Regions from separate parts of the Homo sapiens genome. Here regions 2 and 3 are each linked to region 1. Evidence: promoter capture Hi-C in human tissues and cell types (Jung and others, 2019). All regions are on one chromosome and are shown on one strand. The core of a region is centred on a gene start or on the middle of the fragment in contact, and the rest is flanking DNA. Distances in the headings are between cores, read along the strand shown. Region 1 holds the start of ACTBL2 (actin beta like 2). Region 2 overlaps RAB3C (RAB3C, member RAS oncogene family). Region 3 overlaps RAB3C (RAB3C, member RAS oncogene family).

Region 1 (2,989 bases), core at 149-2,648:
GCAAAGACTCAGGTTAGTTCTCCTGGCCTTGAGCTGGAGGGTGTTTTTTGTCCAGTAAATAGGGGCTGTGCTACCTCTTACAAAGCAAGCTTTATTGGGTAAATGAATGAATGATGAACCCAAATAAAGATTATTTTGGAGAACTCAGATGTAGACATGGAAAATTTCTTTGCTTTACAAGAGCTCACAAAGATAATTATATTCTATTCGCCTAACACATAGGGGAGCAGAAGTAATGAGCTTTCTTAAATGCTATTTCTCTGTAACACATTGCTGATGTCCTACATTTTACCATCATACACATCTTTTCAGGTAGTCTGTATTTCTATATGAAACATGGAACCCAAACAAATTGTTGCTATGAAGTGATCAGGGTGTAATATATCTTGAAATGGAAGGAAAGCTAGTATAATTCTAATTGTATAGATTTTAATAACTACATAGAGGTTTAATGTTATAATATAGTATATGTATCTTGAAGATCAAAATGTTTTAAGGATTAGTTTAAATATATAATTTTTCAAATTTGTCTTATCACTTCATTTTGTCCATTGTTGCAGAACTCAAGAGTTGTTGCAAATAAATAAATTTTTATAACCTGCATCTTAATAAATCATGCAAAATAGTTGACATTCAGTCATTATACAATTAACATGGACCCAATGAACCTGGTTCTATGAACAATGTCTAGACACAGTAAATGTTTAATGAAATTTGGTTGTTAGAAATTTATATCAGAAAAAAGTATCTATATGGGTTAACTTTAGCAATCATTCTATTCCTTTCGCTTGATCTCTGATGGATTAGAAGTCTATTAAATATCTCTACATTTTGCTTGACACAAGTGCATTGTAATTACAGCCATCAGGCCATCCTTAGCCATTTATTATTTTCATTTACTAAAACAGTCTCTACGATGATGACACCCTGTGGGATTAGGAATCTAATGGAAACAAAAATCTTGAAAAAGTGAAGATTGCAGGGTAAGACCCCTCATCAGAACAGTATCTTAAGAATGAAAAGGTAAGCTAGTGTAGGAAAAGTGAATCCTCAGGGACGCTAAGGAGGGAGCCTTCCTCCCAGCAGTGTTGCCATACCTAGCACCAGCTTTCTTTCATCTTGCTTTTATATCCCCCACTGCATCATCATAGTTATCTAGAGACCTCACCAGGCAGGCTGACGGTCATGTGTGGGTTGCCTAATTACAGGAACCTGAGATTTGACCACTTGGCAGCCAATTTTCTCTTTATGTAGAAAGATCTAATTGTTTATGTAATCATCACCATCATTAATACCTCAGAGATGACCTCATCCAGAAATGCTGGGAACTGGTGGAGTAGGACATGGGCGGAGTCAGTGTGTTCCTTTAAATACCTGTGGTCCCGGTGCAGCCTCCCGTGTCTGAAAGCATTTCTGGAGTGTTTTAGGCCTGTTCACTTTCTCTTACTCACTGTCTATTCACTTGTCCTGTTCACTCGTCTGGAAGATCTCAGCCAGCACCATGACTGACAATGAGCTGTCTGCCTTGGTAGTGGATAATGGGTCAGGGATGTGCAAGGCAGGCTTTGGTGGTGACGATGCCCCCCGGGCTGTGTTCCCCTCCATGATAGGGCGTCCTCGACACCAGGGCGTTATGGTAGGCATGGGCCAGAAGGACTGCTACGTGGGAGATGAGGCTCAGAGCAAGAGAGGCGTCCTGACCCTGAAGTATCCTATCGAGCATGGAGTGGTCACCAACTGGGACGATATGGAAAAGATCTGGTACCACACATTCTACAATGAGCTCCGTGTGGCACCAGATGAGCATCCCATCCTCCTCACCGAGGCACCCCTGAACCCCAAGATCAACCGGGAAAAGATGACTCAGATCATGTTCGAGGCTTTCAACACACCAGCCATGTATGTCGCCATCCAGGCTGTGCTGTCCCTCTATGCCTCAGGACGGACCACAGGCATCGTGATGGATTCTGGGGATGGGGTCACTCACATCGTGCCCATCTATGAAGGTTATGCCCTGCCTCATGCCATTCTACGCCTGGATCTGGCAGGGAGAGACCTGACTGATTACCTCATGAAGATCCTGACAGAGCGAGGCTATAACTTCACCACCACTGCTGAGCGGGAGATTGTGCGAGATGTCAAAGAGAAGCTGTGCTACGTAGCCCTGGACTTTGAGCAGGAGATGGTCAGGGCAGCCGCATCCTCCTCACCGGAACGGAGCTATGAACTTCCTGATGGGCAGGTGATCACCATTGGGAATGAACGCTTCCGATGCCCTGAAGCCATTTTCCAGCCTTCCTTTCTGGGCATTGAGTCCAGTGGGATCCATGAGACAACCTTCAACTCTATCATGAAGTGCGATGTGGATATTCGCAAGGATCTCTATGCCAACACCGTGTTATCTGGAGGGAGCACCATGTACCCAGGCATTGCTGACAGGATGCAGAAAGAAATCATAACCCTGGCACCCAGCACCATGAAAATCAAGATCATAGCTCCCCCAGAGCGGAAGTATTCTGTTTGGATTGGGGGCTCCATCCTTGCCAGCCTGTCCACATTCCAGCAGATGTGGATCAGTAAGCAGGAATATGATGAGGCTGGTCCTCCTATCGTTCACAGAAAATGTTTCTGAATGGGCTTCCATATTAGTGGGCTTACATTTTCCCTTTTCCTAGGTCACAGTGATGGTACTGCTTTTATCCGCTTTCAGTAGAATCGAGGTAAATACGTCACTCTTCCTAGTGTAAACCAGCAAACCCATCTCTCCATCCAAGTAACCTGGGCTCTTACCCAGATAACCACATCCGGTTCTCCATCAAGTGAAGGTGAATTCTAATACCATATTCCTTTTTCTTTGCCTATACTGTTCAAAGATAGGTAGGCCAGCTTAAATACATATAAGTGACAAGGAGTAAAATCACGAGAAATGTCATTTCAGAATGGATAACTATAATTATCAAGCTTTAAAACTTAGTTCTCGCTAAAATAT
Region 2 (2,989 bases), core at 245-2,744, 1.3 Mb before region 1:
AATGTCAATTTAAATTTTCTCACCATACATGAATAAGAAAATAAACGTTTTACTCAGCTGAGCTTGATGTAAAGATATCTTTTAGCCTTTAATCTAAAAAAATGTCCCTTGATCAGTATCTCATGGGGCATTTTCTTTATGATTGGGGAGCATTTGTGCTTTATAAGCGTATATTTATGTGGGTTGAGCTCTCACTAAATTAACTCCTAGCAAAGGGAGGATGGAATAAGGTTAGGAAAACACATTCAGACCTGCCAGTACTATATTAATGACAAAAATATATCCAAAGCAAAAAGGAAGAGTTATGAAAATGCAGTGTTACAGATCTGCATTCCACATCTCTCGGAAATCAAAAGGGGTTACATGGTAGTCTCCTACCAGGAAAGAATAGAAGCAATTAAAAAAAAAATAACATTATGGGACATAGTACAATCAAAGGCTGTGAAAATGAAAAGCCTTCATATTTTAAATCTGAAAGGTAAATGTGGTCCTAGATCCTGGCTCTTGAGAAATTATTCTTATCCTATCTTTTTTTCAGGTGGCAAAGGCTGTTAAGTGCTTTCTGGGTATAAAGCTAATATTCCTACTGAAGTGCTGACTGATTCATACCTTTGCATGACTTATGTTCCAACAATTCTGTAGAATTCTCAAATACAGTGTACTTTAGAAATGCAAAGTTTTAACACTATTATCATTGAAATTATTTCTGAGCAGAAAAAAATGCTTAATTTTCATGTTTCGGCTGATTTAGAAAAAAGTAACTCATTAGCAGTCACTAAAAAGGAATCCTGTGCATTATGTTTAAGTATAGGAATAAATATTTAACATTTACTGTCAAAGATGAGTAATTATATATATAATGGTGGGCATAATGAGTATTCACATTTGGAGATACTACTTAAATACTGTGTACAAGGTGTTAAAGCATGCGGTGAGAAATTCTGGAGGACAACCTAAGAGAAAAGATTTGGTTTAAGGCTCTTAGAGGAAGTAGGGGGGCATGTAGATTTTTGACGGGAGTTTAAGGCATCATACCATGTCATGTAACACACAAGCATGTAGAGAGAGAAAGCTCACTTATGTCAAGGATGCTTTCTCTTCCAAGCCTCGCCTGCTTAACCTGTTGAAGTCTGAACCTGTGGTATACCAGTAGACAAGTGCCAATGTATTCCGCTTCCCATTCATTCATTCATTCTTTCTCTCTCCAAAGCTTTATTGACCTTACATCTTTTAGTCATGGGGATAAGGGGTAAAAGAGGATGCAAATACACGTAAAACACAGTTTTACTCAGAGGACTTTCAGGCTGGAGCAGTTGATAAGATATGCACTCAAAAGATAGTGAAAAGTATTACAAAAATTTTTAAAAAGTAAAATGTGGTAGAGATTCGGTAGAAGGGAGAATCAAAAAAAAATTTATGTAGAATATAAAATCTAAGCTTGACCTTGAAAAATGAGTAAAATGAGACATACAGAGATGAAAGTCAGGGACTGGGGTAGTGGAGAGGGAGGAGGAAGTTGGAAGAGTACATTCTGGTTTGGTTCAGGGTGGGATGGAGAACTAGAGTGAAGCCCAGTGGCCCAGATAAAGAGAGAGAAGAGATACAGTGTAGGTTGAGTCCAGATTATAGGGAGCTCTACATGCTAAGGGTTTAAACCTAATTGTATAGGTACCAGGGAGCCACTGGTAGATTCTGCGCAGGCTGATGATGTGAAACATGAACAAAAGAGTAATCTAAGAAGATTAACATAGAGTTTCCATCCCAACCCTACTTTTTTTTTTCAACTAAGAATTAAGCCTTAATGCTTTCAAAGTATATATTTTACATAATAAATTAACTTGTTCCCTGTGCATCTAGAATGGTGCTACTGTAGTTAGGAACCATGCTTAGGAGAACTAAGAAAATAGTTACTTAAGTCATATTCAGATGAAGAACTCTGGTTAAGAAAGGAAATGCTCAGAAATACAGAAGCCAAATTAGAAGACTTTTACAAGTTTTAATAAAAGAAACTAAAGTAATAGTAGGGAAATACATATACAAGTATTAATTTTAACCAATCATATCTACCTAGCAGCAGATCATTCTCTCACCCAAAGGTTATATGCAAACATGAAATCCTAGAGGGCCATACTGTGTGGAGTCAGGTGGGACACTGATGAGCATCTATGAGTATTTTTGCTGGAGGTCTTAACTTTTTTTTTATTTGACTGATTTCCCATTTATTCATTCATTTTTAGAGGGGTTTCTTCTTGCCTTGAGAAATGATGCAGTTCTAGTTACTATTCAGAGATAGGGCTAGAGTCTAATTCAGGAAAAACAAAACACATATGGAATCCTAGACAGAAGCAAAGAGGATCTGAATGAAATTATAGCTGGTACATAGTTACAGACTACAAGATAGGTAATTAATAATAAAATACTAAATATATCATAGTAGTCACAAGTTCTTTACAATGGAGAAAGAAATTGTGACTACTATGATATATTTAATATTTTTTATTAGCCCCATCATTAAGGAAGAAGCCATACTTCCTTCAAAGGAGGGTTTGAAAACCTCCACCTAAGATCTCAGGATATTCCAGAACACTGATTATGCCAGCAACAAGTTGGCCACAAAGGGTCGTGAAACAGACATAGGCTCACCCTGTCTAGGGAGACAGAGTGGCAGCATCACACAGCCACAGTCTGAATTTTGCTGAATGCATTGTAAGCACTCAGTTCATAAGGTAATACCTGGAGCCAGTGCATAAGCAAATGACAAAACTTAGGTACTAAGGTCCCTGGAGTAAGAAACAAGATATCTAGACTTAGATGATTTGGGGACAAAGACTGCATGTAAGTTAGAAAGAAGGATCCAGACCAATATTTTTCTTTAGAAAGGAGAACCAGAAGAGATATTGGTAACCAAGGAGTGCTTTTAATAATTTGTTATACTTAAATACATAAACTATTAAGCCCCGGGCCACTCCTATTATCTTTCAGCGTTGCG
Region 3 (2,989 bases), core at 243-2,742, 1.1 Mb before region 1:
TTGTTTTATAAGCATAATTCCAATACTATAACTTCATGAAGGCATTAAGAGAAAATCATAGCCCAATATCCATCATGACTAATGCAAAAAAATACTTAACAAAATATAATCAAGCTTAATCCAGCTATATATAGAAAGGACAATATATCATGACCAATAGGGTTTATCTAAGGAATGCCAGATTAGCTAAAAAATCCATCCATGAAATCCAACAAAATAAAGTAGATAAACCACACAATCACATCAATAGATGTAGAACAAGCATTTGACAATATTTGACACCCACTTATGTTAAAAACAAATTTTCTCATCAACCGAGAAATCAAATTTGTTCAATATAATAAATAATATCTATACCAAAACAAAGAAACATAGTAACAAAACCCTACAGCTAATTTCACACTTGATGATAAAAAACGGAAGGTCTTCCCTCTTAAAATGGGGAACAAGATAAGGATGTCCGCTGTCATCACGTCTATTCAACATTGTACTGGTTGTTCTATTCTATTCAATAAGATATGGGGAAAAAAAGAGAGTCTTTGGGAAGGAAGAAATAAACTATCTCTATTTGTAAATAATATGATAGTTTATGTTGAAATTCTTATGGAATCTTAAAGAAAACTAGAAATAAATATAGCAAGGCCTCTGGACGCAGAGTCAGGACAAACAGATCAGAGTCTGGATACAGACCCCAGGTATAATTAATTAACCTAAATTTCATCAAAATTCAAAAAAATCCTCACCAAAAGGCACTATTTAGAATATGAATGTACAAGCCACCAACTGGGAGAAACCTTTATTTATATATCTACCTGACTTGACAAAGGACTAAACTGAAGATGAAAGATCTCTTGCAACTAAACAATAAAAACAAACCCCCCAGATGCATAAAAGGTTAAAACCCATGATTCACAAGGGAAGATATATAAGTGGCCAATAAGCACATAAAAATATACTAAAAACCGTTCATCATTAGGAAAATTCAAATTTAAATCATAATCAGATACCAGAAAACACTCATTACCAAGTGGCCAAAACTAAAAAGACCACTGACATTACATGCTGTTGAAGATGTGGAGCCACTAAAACTCTCTCATACATTGCTGGTGAGAATTGCCGGTCCTCCCACTTTGGCAAAAGATTTGATTGTTTCTTATAAAGCTTAATATATACTTACCATTTATTCCAGCAATTTTACTTTTAGGTATTTACCCAAGAGAAGTGAAAAGATATTATCATAAAAAAGAACAATAGAAAAAACATTTATAGCCTTATTCTTAGTATCCCCAAATTAGAAATTACCTCCAAGTTCATAAACAGGATAATGAATTTTAAAAGTATATTAAATTGATTTTAAAAGTATAATATTCAGCAATAAAATGGAATGAATTATTGAAACATGCAACAACATGGATGAATCTCATACACATTATGCTGAACGAAATAAGCCAGACTCAAACAAGAACATATTTTTTTGTTCCACAGTATGTTCATACTGCATGTTCTACAGAACTATATGAAGTTCTAGAACAAATCAAACTCCTATGGTTAAGTCACTCTGCAGGGCTGAGTGACTTTTGAACCTTCCCAGGGAGAGAGGAGACACAGGAAAATCCCACAGCTAACCCGTGATTGGTCAGGAGAACCCAGGGATCTCAAGTTCAAGTCTCACCTAAAAAAGTTTACTGCATAGGTATATTAATTAGGAAAAACCATGAAGGAATACTCAGGGATGATTAGAAATGTTCTATATCTTTATAATGGTGTGTGTTACACAGATTTATACATTTGTCAAAATTTATCAAATTGTTCACTTAAGATTTGTGCATTTCAATGTATATAAATATTATCTAAAAACCTATAAACTAATGAACGAAAAATGCTAAAGATCTATGTTATTCTGAATAACTCTCAAAGATTTAATCTTCACAGGCTGTAGTATCCTTGGTAATAGACTGACCTGCTAAGATGATTCCCACAGAACCTCTGAGCCACATTAATTTAAGAAAGGGAAAAATGGTTGGAAAACCTTTAATCTATATAAAAGAACATTTTTTTGAGGTGGCCCAGCTGCTTGTATTTAGCGAGTTGAGTGGGCAAGAGTAGTTTCAAGAAAACCTATTCCTCAGCATAAACATATATTTCCTTCCTGGAATATGATGGTGAAGAAAGGACTTGCCAATTCCAGTATAAGCTTAGAATGGTGGCAGAAAATTATGATAATTTTGCAGTTTCAATGGAAAAGCATTCTTATACTACAAAAGTGAATTTTTGCTATAGGTTAAGTTTTCTTGCTATCCTCCACTTCCTTTTACAGAAGAAAAGTGGATACTTGAGCAATTAGCCCAAATGGAGTAAGGAAGAATTTCTCATTTCTCTAAAGTCAATTAGGGATTTTCTGTTTCTGTAAAGGATGAGGACTACATGTCCATTTCTCAGAAAGATAGAGGGATGATCACTGAGGATGGATATGGTTAGGAATTCAACAATAATGAAGTGCAAAAATGCCATGTACTTTCCATAGCCAAATAAAACAGTGATATTTAGACTTTAATTCTTTGTAATTTGGTGTTGTGTACAGTATGGCTAACTTTAATATATAACTAATGGTTTTTAGCTCCACTTCATCTTCAGCCTACATCTATAGTCCTTCTTCAATCCTCCTCATCTTTAGCCAAACATTTTTTTTTGGCACTCTGCTCCATGTTTTGGGTAGATATATTTCTTTGAATTTTCCTCAATAGTCAGAAGACTGCATTTATGAAGTGACCCCAAAAGCTTGTGGATAACAAATTGGAAAAGTAAGCATTTAGTCAGAGACAATGAATTCCACTTTGGTCCTGTAAGAGAGTACGTGACCCTGCCAGAAATTATAATAGATAGAAGCAAACCATTTTTAAAACATTGCCCCTTTTCAAATATTCTGTTTAGTTTATGCAAGTTTATTTTATAAGAAGAAGATAGGGCCAATTTTTCTTTCTTCTGAACC

Evidence for each region. The method cuts DNA at HindIII sites, captures the fragments that hold promoters and counts their contacts. A contact is called where the count stands out against the background at its distance.
Region 2: a contact is called between a fragment that was not itself captured here and the fragment with the promoter of ACTBL2 in region 1, in 1 of the 25 tissues and cell types used here (dorsolateral prefrontal cortex).
Region 3: a contact is called between a fragment that was not itself captured here and the fragment with the promoter of ACTBL2 in region 1, in 1 of the 25 tissues and cell types used here (dorsolateral prefrontal cortex).

The regions. Positions count from the first base shown.
Region 1 is chr5:57,481,220-57,484,208 of GRCh38, reverse strand. It overlaps ACTBL2 (actin beta like 2), which reads left to right and starts at 1,398. Exons shown (of 1, transcript NM_001017992.4): 1 at 1,398-2,989. The coding sequence starts at 1,502. The coding sequence ends at 2,632. The region is part of intron 1 of RMEL3 (enriched in melanoma 3); the gene reads right to left. The HindIII fragment of the contact is 3,416 bases long and covers 1-2,989 here.
Region 2 is chr5:58,780,359-58,783,347 of GRCh38, reverse strand. All of the region lies in intron 3 of RAB3C (RAB3C, member RAS oncogene family), which reads right to left. Among named protein-coding and RNA genes, the nearest start is that of RAB3C, 200 kb to the right of the region's middle. The HindIII fragment of the contact is 3,377 bases long and covers 1-2,989 here.
Region 3 is chr5:58,586,435-58,589,423 of GRCh38, reverse strand. The region is part of intron 1 of RAB3C (RAB3C, member RAS oncogene family); the gene reads right to left. Among named protein-coding and RNA genes, the nearest start is that of RAB3C, 4.9 kb to the right of the region's middle. The HindIII fragment of the contact is 3,938 bases long and covers 1-2,989 here.